3 separate regions of the Homo sapiens genome follow, and all the other regions are linked to region 1. Evidence: promoter capture Hi-C in 16 types of primary human blood cells and fetal thymus (Javierre and others, 2016). All regions are on one chromosome and are shown on one strand. The core of a region is centred on a gene start or on the middle of the fragment in contact, and the rest is flanking DNA. Distances in the headings are between cores, read along the strand shown. Region 1 holds the start of FAM200B (family with sequence similarity 200 member B). Region 2 overlaps PACRGL (parkin coregulated like). Region 3 holds the start of WDR1 (WD repeat domain 1).

The links. The method cuts DNA at HindIII sites, captures the fragments that hold promoters and counts their contacts. A CHiCAGO score of 5 or more calls a contact.
Region 2: a fragment that was not itself captured here is called in contact with the fragment with the promoter of FAM200B in region 1 in 1 of 17 cell types (naive CD8 T cells); the score reaches 5.7 in naive CD8 T cells.
Region 3: a fragment that was not itself captured here is called in contact with the fragment with the promoter of FAM200B in region 1 in 1 of 17 cell types (naive CD8 T cells); the score reaches 6.7 in naive CD8 T cells.

The regions. Positions count from the first base shown.
Region 1 is chr4:15,680,506-15,684,568 of GRCh38, reverse strand. FAM200B (family with sequence similarity 200 member B) reads right to left here and starts at 2,742. Exons shown (of 2, transcript NM_001145191.2): 1 at 2,668-2,742. It also overlaps a transcript of FBXL5 not described here. RefSeq lists enhancers at 2,473-2,522, 2,533-2,772, 2,943-3,242. The HindIII fragment of the contact is 4,207 bases long and covers 1,628-4,063 here.
Region 2 is chr4:20,701,398-20,705,552 of GRCh38, reverse strand. PACRGL (parkin coregulated like) reads right to left here. Exons shown (of 9, transcript NM_001258345.3): 2 at 1,020-1,087; 3 at 739-893. The coding sequence starts at 1,071. Among named protein-coding and RNA genes, the nearest start is that of PACRGL, 3.0 kb to the right of the region's middle. The HindIII fragment of the contact is 196 bases long and covers 2,599-2,794 here.
Region 3 is chr4:10,116,217-10,120,016 of GRCh38, reverse strand. It overlaps WDR1 (WD repeat domain 1), which reads left to right and starts at 3,218. Exons shown (of 15, transcript NM_017491.5): 1 at 3,218-3,366; 2 at 3,783-3,800. The coding sequence starts at 3,351. It overlaps LOC124900666 (a long non-coding RNA gene), which reads right to left and starts at 2,928. Exons shown (of 2, transcript XR_007058030.1): 1 at 799-2,928; 2 at 540-690. RefSeq lists enhancers at 1,717-1,806, 1,887-1,986, 3,757-3,800, 3,557-3,800 and silencers at 2,907-3,026, 3,037-3,446, 3,527-3,676. The HindIII fragment of the contact is 407 bases long and covers 1,955-2,361 here.

The DNA of each region.
Region 1 (4,063 bases), core at 1,493-3,992:
AGGATGCTAACATGTTTTAATGCTTCAACTTTCCCCCAAGAAACCTCAAACTACTACAATTTTGTCCTTCTGCCACCTCTCCCTAGATATTTATCATATATAGCTCAAGAAAAACAGTGCTAAACAAAACATGTTAAACAAAACATGCTACAAAGTCTTTTGTTTGACTTTCTTTACTTATATCTCCGAAAGCGGCTTTAATGAGAAGCCAGAGGAATTTTAGGGGAGAAGTTCAAACCTGAGGTTCTGGCCTAAACATAAATTCTGGAACTTTAATTTAAATAGACATGCTCAATTAGTACTCAATGTAAATCAGAGCATGTTCATACCCGAACACGATCAAGTACACCAGTGTGATTCCATAACCCAGGTGGGTTCTGCTGGCCCAAACACCAAAGACCTATAAATGTGTACACTGATGCTTAAGATGTGTGCACTGAAATTGGCTCCTGCGGCTACATGGCAACATTTCCAAGTAATAACTTTATTCAGCTATCCATCTACTTAGCCTCCCTTAAGAATTGCAATTAAGGTAATCAAATATTTGTAGTTGAAAGTTTCTCATACACCAAGGTGCATTAACACGGTTATATGATATGGTTTTAGGTAAGTGATTTTCCACTAATAAATCTTATCTACCTGTTCCTAGAATAGTGCTTGCTGTATGGTAGTTACTCAATGCATATGAGAGAATGAGAAAATTAATGACACCTGTAGTAAACTGTACAATGTACACTCTATTTTTATCACAGTCAGTAACAAATAAGTTATCCAACTATATTTGGACAACTGGGAAATATGTAAGACGAAGGCTAATAAAACATATTATTTAAAACAGGATTGTTAAAGATTCTACTTCATAATAAACTGCTTATGTTAAGAAATAGTAGAAACAATGATCCTATAAAAACATACATGTAAATTTAGATTTAGCTTTTAAAGCTTAGAACCTAAATCTACCTGAAAAAAAGAAATATACATTAAAAAAGTATCTTATTTTTATATTACTATATATGGATCATTTATCTCTTAGAAGCAATTGTCTTTTAACTATTCCATTCTTTCATATTCTTACTATTCACGTTTCAATCCCCCCTTGAAAGTTTGTAACACTAGTTCAGTTACTATTGTATTAAAAAGATATTTTTAAAGGGTTTACTCTCCCTCCTAAATCAGACAGTTCATCTATAGTAACAGCAGTGGCAGTATATTAGGGAACAGGTCTGGTAGATGTGGTGATGAAAGCATGGGGAAGTTTTTTTTTAACTCAATAGGATGTGAGGTATCATCTAAGTAAGAGGCCGAAGTAGAAAATGTTGCAAGTTTGTCAGAAGAAAATATGAAATATTAATAATTGTTAAGGAATGTGATAATATGATGGACTAGGAAAATGTTTTTGGATTTTTAGTCTGGCTGGTTGTCTTACTTGCTTAATGCAATGATTGTTATTGTTACAATGCTTGATAGTCTAAAATTCCCCGTCACTAATCTTTTATATCCTAAGATATATCTCTAGTGCGCTGTATCATCTTCTGAAAATACAGCTCTAATCAGCTTCCTCATAACTGGAAAAGCATTTAATGGCGCCGAGCTTGTGTAAGCTCTTCAGGATAATATCCTTTAAGCTTAAGCCTCATCTTTCCAGGTTTCTCCTTCATCACATGATCTCCATACATTCTACATTTCAGTACTAAAAGTATGGAAATTCTTGAAATAGTTCATGCACTTTCATGTCTCTGCTTTTGGCTAGTATTCCTTTTGCCTGGAATACTCTTGTTGGGTCACATGAAGTCCTATTTATTCTTTTCTACTTAGTTCAAATGCTACAGCAGCCATGCATTCAACTAACATTTAGCTACCTACAGTGCCTAAAGTATGTCAGGCACTGGAGATACTAAACAATGAACAGTGACATATTAAAATAACAGAATATCTGTTCAGCTATTAAGATGAATAAGGTGGAGTTACACAACACTGACAAATCTCAAAAACATTATGTAAAACAAGCTAGCTGCAAAAAGATGTACACATTACAGATTGCATAAAGGTGGTTAGGAGAGTGGTTTCCTTAGGCAAAAGGAAAGAGAATGAGACGGGGTAGAGCTGACAAAGGACTTCAATCACTTATATAATCATTTATTTCTCCAATTCAGTGGTGAGTACACATGTGTTATAGTTTTGTTTCTACCTTTTTTCTGTCTAAAATCGTCTATTTAAAAAAAGCATCTTTAAGGCTGGATACCTTCCTGAAGGCACTGGAAATCTGTCATACTGCCACTAACTTAAAATTACCTTCCACCTCTTGCATTTCCCTTTGTTTCCTGTTTTGACATTGCGCACACATTAGTTAGTACACTAGGCCTTAAGAGTGGAAACTGCCAGGTACCAGCTTTAGCTAGATTAAAACATGACCCTCTTCCCAGGAGACTCCTGACCGGTTTTCTCGTCCTCCAGGGACCCAGCTAGGATTTCAATGAACTTTGGCCTGAACCCCTCGGCCGACCCTAGAATAATCGCCCTTCAGGCCCGGATTGCTTCTGCTCTCACCTTCCCTCAATTCATACGGGGGGCAAAACCAGACTGTATTTCCCGCAACGAACCCTGGAATGCTTCGCTTTAGCGGACTCCGGTCCACTCCCATCAGAGGATGCCCTTCTTTCGCCTCACCTCCAGCCCAGCCGCAGCGACCCGGCCGGGCCCAGCGCTGCAAGCCTCAGGTCTCTCCAGCAGAGCTGCGCCTCTGCTCTCCCCACACTTCCCTCCGCAACACCACTTCCGGCCTACCTCACAAATTCCCCATTCCAGCCGAAAAGAACTGGATCGGCCCTCTGCGCATGCGTGAGACCGGGGCGGTGTCCGGGGGTGCCGGGAGCGGGCGGTGCAGGCTCCACTTTTCCACTTCCCTACGCTCTGTCGGCAGTCTCGCGGGATTTCCGCCTCTCGCGGGAGTTATTTGAATGCCAGGGCGGTAACGACTCCCTAGGCGCCTGGGGCCCTCTGACAAGAAACCCTAGGAGACACCGCGGAGAACTCTGCCTCTGAGCTGGTGGGCGGGCCGGATGTAGCCGAGCGCGGACAGGGCTAGTCCGGACAGAGTCCCAGAGCCATGGGAGCGAAAAGAGACTGCTGCGGATTAAGGAGGCCTTTCGGTTGGCGCAGCAGCCACACCACAACCAGGCGAAGCAGGTAGTGGCGCTGAATCGCTCCTGCCGCGGGGTAAGCGCTCCCGGCCCGCGCCCGCCCCAGCCCCGACCTGGCGGGGCCAGGACGCTGGTTCATACACTCCAAGGTGATTTTCATAGTCTTTGTGGAAGAATTAGAGAATTTTGAACTTTGATATCATTGCACGTGTTTACTTATTTAGAGAATCGCATTGTGTTTAATAATCATAGTATTCCTGTGCGACTCTTTAGGTTAGCAGATCATTGATTTTTAACATAAAACTGCATTTCATTAAATAGATTTAAATATGTATGTATATTTCTGTCCTCTAATGATTGTAACAAAGCAGATTTCTTGATCATTAACAAGATAGGTTCGTGCAAATAAGTGCATCTTTGTCACAAACCAAATTTTTTTGTGGTTGAGATATATATTTATATATATATGTGAAACAAAAAACATATAAAGGAGAATATATATATATTCTTATATATATAATATATACTGCTTTATTTTTTTGGGTTGACATATATATGTCATATATAGTTTTTTTTTAAATTCTACCTTAAACAGGGAAACATGTTAGATACAGGAGCTTGAATTTCAACTCTGAAACTTAATGCGACTTTATCAGCATTTCTCTTTCTCAAGCTACTTACTTCTTGTAGGATTACACAGTCAAATTTTTAAAAATTTTTGATTCTCCAACTGGATTTTTTTTTTTAATTTTTGAGACGGAGTCTCACTCTCTCGCCCAGGCTGGAGTGCAGTGGCGCAGCCTCGGCTCACTGCAACCTCAGCCTCCTGGTTCAAGCGATTCCCCTGCCACAACCTCCCGAGTAGCTGGGATTACAGGCGACCGCCACCATGCCAGGCTAATTTTTGTATTTTTCAAAAATAC
Region 2 (4,155 bases), core at 1,447-3,946, 5.0 Mb before region 1:
AAGGAACATAGCCGCTCAAACTATTTGTCACTTTGCTTTTATCCAGTCGGACACTCCTTCTGTCTTGGAGAGCTCACTATACCTTTGCTTCCTTAAGTAACTGCCATACCCCTACCTACCACCACAGTCAGTCAGGAGCTTCAGCCACCCTCACAATCCCCTTCGAAGGCTGAAATCACTAACATCTCACCCTACCAAAGTTGGGCATGGGGCAAATAACACCTGGTGTTGTTGCACAGGTGTGTTCACTTCTGAATATTTTTACTGCATAAATCCCATGTTTATTAAATCTCATTAAATTGTTAGGAGAGGGCAAAGGAGGTTAGTACTACAACTAGGATTTCTGGTGGAACTAATTTACAGAACACAGGAAAGGTCAGAGACCTTTATGCAACTATAGAAGCACGAAAAGCATTCTGTGGCAACTGAATACAGTTTATTCATTGATATGGGGAAGTAAAACAACACTGCAAATAAAATCTAAAGCTAAAGTGCAATTTTCTATGCACTACAATGCGATATCCCAAACAGGTTAACTTCTATGTCTCCTTACCTCCATACTCACTCCCACATGTGACTGATTATCTCAGTTCTTCATCATAATAACCACATGCCCTTCTCTCATTATTAGCTCAAAACTAGCAAAGGGACAAAACTCAACACAGCATCCAGCATTGTTCAATACTGTGCGAAATGCCTTTAAAAAATCTACTGAGTTAGGAATAGTTTTGGACCTACCGGATTAATTGTTTTAGGGTTCAGTTTATCACTTGGTCTAGGATGAAGTTTTCTTGCAGACTCTGGAGAACTGGTTGACAATGAGGATTTGCTTCCCTGAACTGCATTCCTGTGTTTTAACTGTGTGCTTGATGATGTCCTTTGATCATAGTTACCTGGAAAAAAACAGAACATCAATAGAAACCAGGTACAAGCAATAAAGTTCACCCTGCATCCATCTGTAGCACAGAAAGTGCCATGAACAAACTTGACCTCTTCACTTAAAAACAAAAGCTCTGTACCTGTTGCTCTGTTTTTCAACTGTGTACCTCCAGAGCCCTCTGATTTCTGCATTGCTTCCCTTTCACTCCTGCAGTTTAAAAAAAAAAAAGTTGATTTCAAAATTTGTTTGGAGGGGCATTTGTTATCAATAAAAAGACAAAACCAGAACAGAGTATACAATACAGTAAAAGACACACAAAAAAGTTGATATGGAGCAAAATACTGGAAAAGACTAATGAGAAAACATGAAATTATGTCAACTTCAATAGTATCAATAACAGCAAAATAATCATCTCCAAGAAATGATGTACAAAAGTCAACTTTTTTTCCATTCAAATTGTCAAAATAAACTGTTAGAAACTCACTTCCAATTCTCTGACCACATTAGAAAACACAGACTAGATTTCTGAAAGGAGTGGTTGGTACATTCCCTGTCATCTTCTCCATCTTCTCTGGCCTCTGTATTTCCAAAGCTCCAAATGTTAACATGTGCACATCAAGCTCTACTTTTCCAGTGACATAATGAACTCTCCTACCCAATGTATCACAAGCTCCTTAAACTGAATGTAACTAAAACTGAGGTTGTCACACTGAAGTTATTATGAACCCCTTGTTAACCCAGGGTACCACCAGTTTTCTGGTCCTCAGACTGAAAAACTTAGAATCACCATTGTCTCCTTTTCCTTCATTTCCTACACTCAATGCTACACGTGATGAGAAAGAAAGAGCTTTGGGCTCAAATATGGGTCTGCATCTCAGTTCTACCAATTATGAAATTTATGAATTTAGGCAGATTATTTAACCTCCCTAAACCTCGACTTCCTGACCTGTTTAAAGAGGGAAATAAAAGCCTGTCAAGGTTTTCTGGAGGTGCAAATGAAATTATCTCTCAAGTTACTCACCCAGGGAATACTGGTTCACTTTTCCCTTACACAGTTGCTTTTTTTCTGCTAATGGAGGACTCTAGTTCATACCCCAAGGTTTCCAGCTAATCCAATCAATTTCTACAATTGTATCTCTAGCAAGAAATACACACACACAAACACACACACACACACACACACACACACACACACTCATATACCCAAGTGCCTACTGGTATTTTTAGGCCAAGCTTCATTCCCAACTTCCATGAAGCCTTTCCTCATCTTGGTTTCTCAAATGTGTATTTCTATGGCATTGATTTCTATCCTGTGTCCTTATTTCTACTTGATTACTCTGTTCCCTCACTTCCACGACAATCTAGTTATTCTATTAGCACACGTCTCATTTTAATGCCTTTAATAATGACTGCCTCTCAAGTATAGTGTAAGATCTTCCCTTAGGACAACACAGGTAAAGTCCTCTTCCACCTCCAAATGACACTTTTTCAAATATTTGATGGCATTAACTCTTAACTCCTTCATTTTTTCTTCTTCAGGATAAACACTGATACTTTTTAAAATGATTCCTCACATGAAATGCTTTTAATCCACTTAACAAGTTAGAAATCCTCAAAAGGAGGACAAAGCTCCATGTTATAAAATTTAGCCAGATATCTCAAACATGATGTACCAGCTTAAAGTCTGATACCATGTAAAGATAACCTAAATGTAAGCTTGCTTCTGCACACTGAATAATTTCAATTTCCTTGATTTAGTACATTGATCTCATTTATCTCATCCCACTACCAGCAGATGACTTACTTCCCAGTATCACACTTCACCTCCATTCCCAGGGCCATTTTCTAATACTACGGTAATTAAAATCTCATTAAAGTTGTCAGATAATAGTCTAAAATAAGCTGAGAGAAGCTTTAAATATGTTAACCTACTATTGTACTTCTGTGATCATTCAACAAGTATTTAATATTGTGCCTGACTTCTGTTTTGAGAAGCTCCTGGAGGGGGAACAACACAAGTTTCTATTGAAAAAAAAAATGCATCAGTTTCCTCAACTCTATAATTGGGCATAATTACAGGAACTACTTTAAGTGTTGATGAAGACTAGTAAGAATATATGTAAAACAACATTTCCATAATGGGAGGCATGCAGTAAGGGCCACATGAGTCTTAGCTATTATTATAATTTTCTTTACAATGGTACAAAGTGTTCTTCAGTATTACTATTACTAATAGTGAAACCACATGTTTTGTCATTTTTAAAAAATCTGGCTTAACATCTTGGGCTACATCAATTTGAAGACCAGCTGAGGTCCAATTTCTCTTGATCATCAATTGTTAACAGCTGCAACAGATAAAAGCGATGCACAGCAAAGACGCGTACCCACAAACATAACAAGGGCACAGGCAGCCATATCAAATTATGATGCACATTTTTCAATACTACCTACCAATTCAGTGGAAGTTTTGGATGGAATTTTATGGCTAAATTTCTATCTTCCTTCACGTCAAAAAGTTGTTCCTGTAACAAACTAATGGGGAGGTGTTGCATTATATTTTGAATGAGTTCAAAAAGTCACCAAAACTCATTTGAAAAAGTTTTAAACATGGTAGAAAATCGAGCTTCTACAGTTTATGAGTATACAGGACAACTTTTATGTACAATATATAATTTTCAGCATTAAACATACAGTAATGCAAACACGTCTACATCCCCTTTCAAAATCCTGTATTAGAGAATTTCCTTCCAAAACAATTGCTTTTTCACTTAAAATTTTTATCCTTTACCTTAACGACAAATTACAGTTGGCTCTCCGTATATGCGGGTTCCACATCTATAGATTTGACCCAACCACGGATACGGAGAGCAGACTGGAGGACTTTGGCATGGGTGGATTTGGGTATCTGAAAGAGACTGGGGGGAGGGAGGGAGTCCTGGAGCCAATTCTCCACGGACACCAAGGGACGACGGGAAATGTAGTCAATTTTTTAAAATAATATCCACCTGGAAGCATGCCACTGACAAGCCTGGAGCATGAGTTGTTTGTGAAAGCAAGCTTTAAAAATCTTATCCTTGGTAACCCTTTCAAGTGGTTTTTCATTAAATAACATGTAGAGGATGGTGTAAAGGGGCAGTGATGGGGAGAAGCGAACCTGTAAGAACTATTTTGTGTTACAAATATTATCAAGGTCACCGCTCATTCTTTTACAAAACAAGATAAACATTCTAATTATAGATATTAGAATCCATAAATCCACTTAACTTCGAACACCT
Region 3 (3,800 bases), core at 909-3,408, 5.6 Mb after region 1:
GCAGTGACCCTTACACGCTTGACACCTGATAGCGGCTTAGCCACACCTTGGGAGTGTAGGTGTACCTGATCTGTATCAACTGCTTTTTGAAGCGCAGTTCTGTCCCAGCTGGCTGCTCTGGACCACTCTGTATTCAAGTCCCCTCCATACACCATATGTGTTCATTGGCTCTGGGTCGCCTCGGCTTCTCGAACATGGTGCCATCCCTATTTAATTCAGTGGGGGCCCAACACAACAGGATACACGAAGGCATGAGTGGTGACTAGGGGAGCCCAACGAATAGGCTAGACCCACAGTAAAGACGGTTCAAGTGTTAAAGCTCCCACAGCTGACAACACCAAACTGAGCTCGCGCCCCACAGGGAAAATCCTGGAACACCCTGGTGTTTCCCATTTTCCTTTCACATCCTTCAGATTTCCTGCCACGTTCATATAGACTCAAGTGACTACGAACAAACAGCTCCCCCACCACCACCATAAAGCCTCTGCAGCTCCAACATGTAACTTTCAAGCTAAAAATAAGCTGTAGAGCCCAGCAGCTGGGAGTTTGGATATGTTTTACTCAAGTTCGACTGTTTAGTTTTCAGTGTCAACTCCAGCAAGGCTTTATGCACGAGTGTAAAGGTTACCAGCTTGCAAGAGCTTGAAGTTGGTCCTTCGTTTTCTTAATCTTGTTACACGAATGCACTACCTGTGAATGCAATTATACCATTTGTTTTAAGGGTCTCAAGGTGATTTGATGAGTTCTAAGTTATCAAAGCAGATGCAGCGGCCTACAAGCCGGGCCTGCGTATCTTACTTTAGGAATCTGTTTTGTACATTCTCCACGGCTCCTCAGTTCGCAGAGCTACTTTCATATCCGTTATTTCCTGATTAACAGTTGTGGGTGGGGAGTGGGGTCATCCCTAGGAGCATCTTCCAGGTGTCAGGGTTATTCCTGAGAGTTAAAGTTAGGGAACGCGGGAATGAGAAGCAGTGTTTGCAAGGGGTTGAAGTTGCAATTTAAAATGAGACCGGTGACACTCATCAACTAACATTTGAGCAATTAAGTACTTCTGAAGGACACAGGAGTCAGCCAAGTAGATCTCAGGTAAGAGTTTCAGGAAAACACCCTCCGAAGCCAGTACCCAAGGCAAAGATGATACAGATGAGGGGAGGCGGACAACGGAGTCTAAGTGACCCGGAGACTGTCATCCAGGACCCTAATGGGCCGTTTTCAAGACTAGCTTTTACTTCATGAAACTTGGAGCCCCTACAGACAAGCTGAGGAATATTTTACTTCGGATGGATCACTCAGCTACCTGGAGAACACACAAGGTTAGGAAGAATAGGAGACAGGCAACATGGCCACTAACCCAGGTGAGCCACGAGAGACTGCTCTACAGAAGTAGGTAGCAAGAGACTAACCTTGATACAACCTTAAGCAGAACAGACCTTTCAGAGAAGCAGGAACCGCTCACAGCGTGGGTTTCAGAGTTTTTAGCTACCCGCAAGTACTTTGGTTTCTCCCACTTTTACCACCCTCCTAGCCCCCAGAGCCCCAATGGAAAACTTGTACCCACGCTACTGAAAGACGAGACTAGAAGCTTGGACACTTCACATTCCCTGCTCTCCCTTCCACAATTGAGCCACTGCCCTGGTTTTAGAAGTGGGGCTTGTTTTGCTCTGAAGTAACCCTTAACGTCCTTAGAAGTAGCAGCTCCCCTACCCCTCTCCCCACGCCTTTGCCTTTTAAAAACCTTAACTTTTGAGAGAGAGAAACAGCACAAGTTCAGGCCCAGCAGAGTAACCCCTACGTTGTTGCCAGCAACTACTTCAAGGGCAGTTAACCGTGCTTAAAGACGCCAAAAGCATCCATCTCCCGCTTACAACAACATTTAGCTACCCCCCACCCACGTACTTTGCTTTCTCCCACTTTTACAACCCTCCCACCCCCAGAGCCCCGAGGGAAAGCTTGTACCCATTCTACTGAAAGATGAGACTAGAAACTTGTACACTTCACAGCGCCTGCTCTCCAGCTGAGCCACTACCCGGGTTTTACAAGTGGGGCTTGTTTTGCTTTCTTAGGAAATAACCTTTAACTTCCTTAAAAGCAGCAGCGCCCCCACCCCCACTTTTGCCTTTCAAAAGCTAAACTTTTGAGAAAAAGCACGAGTTCAGGCCTAACAAAGAGTAACCCTTACGTTCTTGTTGCCAGTAACTACTTCAAGAAAAAGCACTTAACCGTGCTTAGAGAAAGACGCCAACAGCATTCCTCTTCCACTTACAACAACATTCAGCTACCCGCCCGCACCCCGCCAAATACTTTGCTTTCTCCCACTTTTACAACCCTCCCAGCCCCCAGAGCCCCAAGGGGAAAGCTTGTACCCATCCTACTGAAAGATGAGACTAGAAACTTGGACACTTTACAGCCCCTGCTCTCCCGCCACAACTGAGCCACTACCCTGGTTTTAGGAGTGAGACTTGTTTTGTTTAGGAAATAACCTTTAACTTCCTTAAGACCGACAGCTCCCCCATCCCCCACGCCTTTTTTGCCTTTCAAAAGCTCAACTTTTGAGAGAAAAAGCACGAGTTCAGGCCCAACAAAGAGTAACCCCTACGTTCTTGTTGCCAGCAACTACTTCAAGCAAGGGCACTTAACCGTACTTTAAGAAGACGTAAAAAGCATCCCTCTCCTGCTTACAAAACCCGAGCAGGAGGACTGGCGGCTGGGCAACGCCCGGGACCGGTCAAAAAGGAGAGGCCGGGGAGCGCCCGCCACGCAACGCGGTCACAGGTACAGAGAGGTTTTTCCAGACCCCCACCAAAGCCCGCCAGTACTTTCAGCGTCTTTAAGACCCCCCCGCAAATAAACTTCCTACAGCCCAGCTTCTCCTACAAGCTAGCAACAGAAAGGCACCCACCCCCCGACTCCCAGAAGCATTCTGACGCGGCTGCTTGTCTGCGCCGCCTTTTCAAGGGCCCGCGGGGCGTGCTATACGTCACTTCCGGGGCGGGGCGAGCAAGGCGGAGGCGGGGCCGGGGCCGGCGGGGGAGGGGAGCGCCAGGTCCGCGCAGGCTCGCCGGGACCGCAGCCGCCGAGCCGAGCGCTTGACTATATATGGTCAAAGCTGGGGGCGAGCCGCGCGCGGGACCGCGCTTCCGGGTTCGGGGCGTCCGCAACCACAGCGCGCAGGGCAGGCGCGAGCTGGCCTCTGAGCCCCGGCCTCGGACCGCCCACTCCACTCCCGGCACGCCCGGTGCCGCCTTCCGGCTCCAGTCCCCGGGCTCGGCCTCGGCGAGGTGTAATTCGCAGCGCGGGCCGGCCCCGGAGGCTCTCGGCGAGCGCGGCGCGGTAACAAGTGGGCGAGGATGCCGTACGAGATCAGTAAGTGCCGCGGCGCGGGGCCCCCGAGCGGCCGCCGCGCTGCCCCGGCCCCGGTCCCCGGCCCCTAGGCGCCGTGCGGGTGGCGGGGGAGTCCTCGGCGCGGGGGAGGGGTGCGGGCGCCGGCCGGAGGCGTGGCGGGGCCGCCCTCGGTGGTGCAGGGCGGGACCCCCGACGGGGGGTGCGCCCCCAAGTTGGCGCCGTGGGCCGAGCCGGAGGAGCCCCGCTGCCCCCAAGGGCCTGGCCCGGGGCGCGGACCAGGAAGTCGCGCGGTTCCTGGCGCTCGTGGAAAGTGGAGGCCGCCCTCCCGGCGCAGTCAACAGGTGACCGGCCGAGACCGGTCCGGGGCTCCTTCTCCCTTCTGTCCCCGCCGTCCCCGCCCTGCCCTGACATGCCCCGCCGCATTTGTGTCTCCGCAGAGAAGGTGTTCGCCAGCC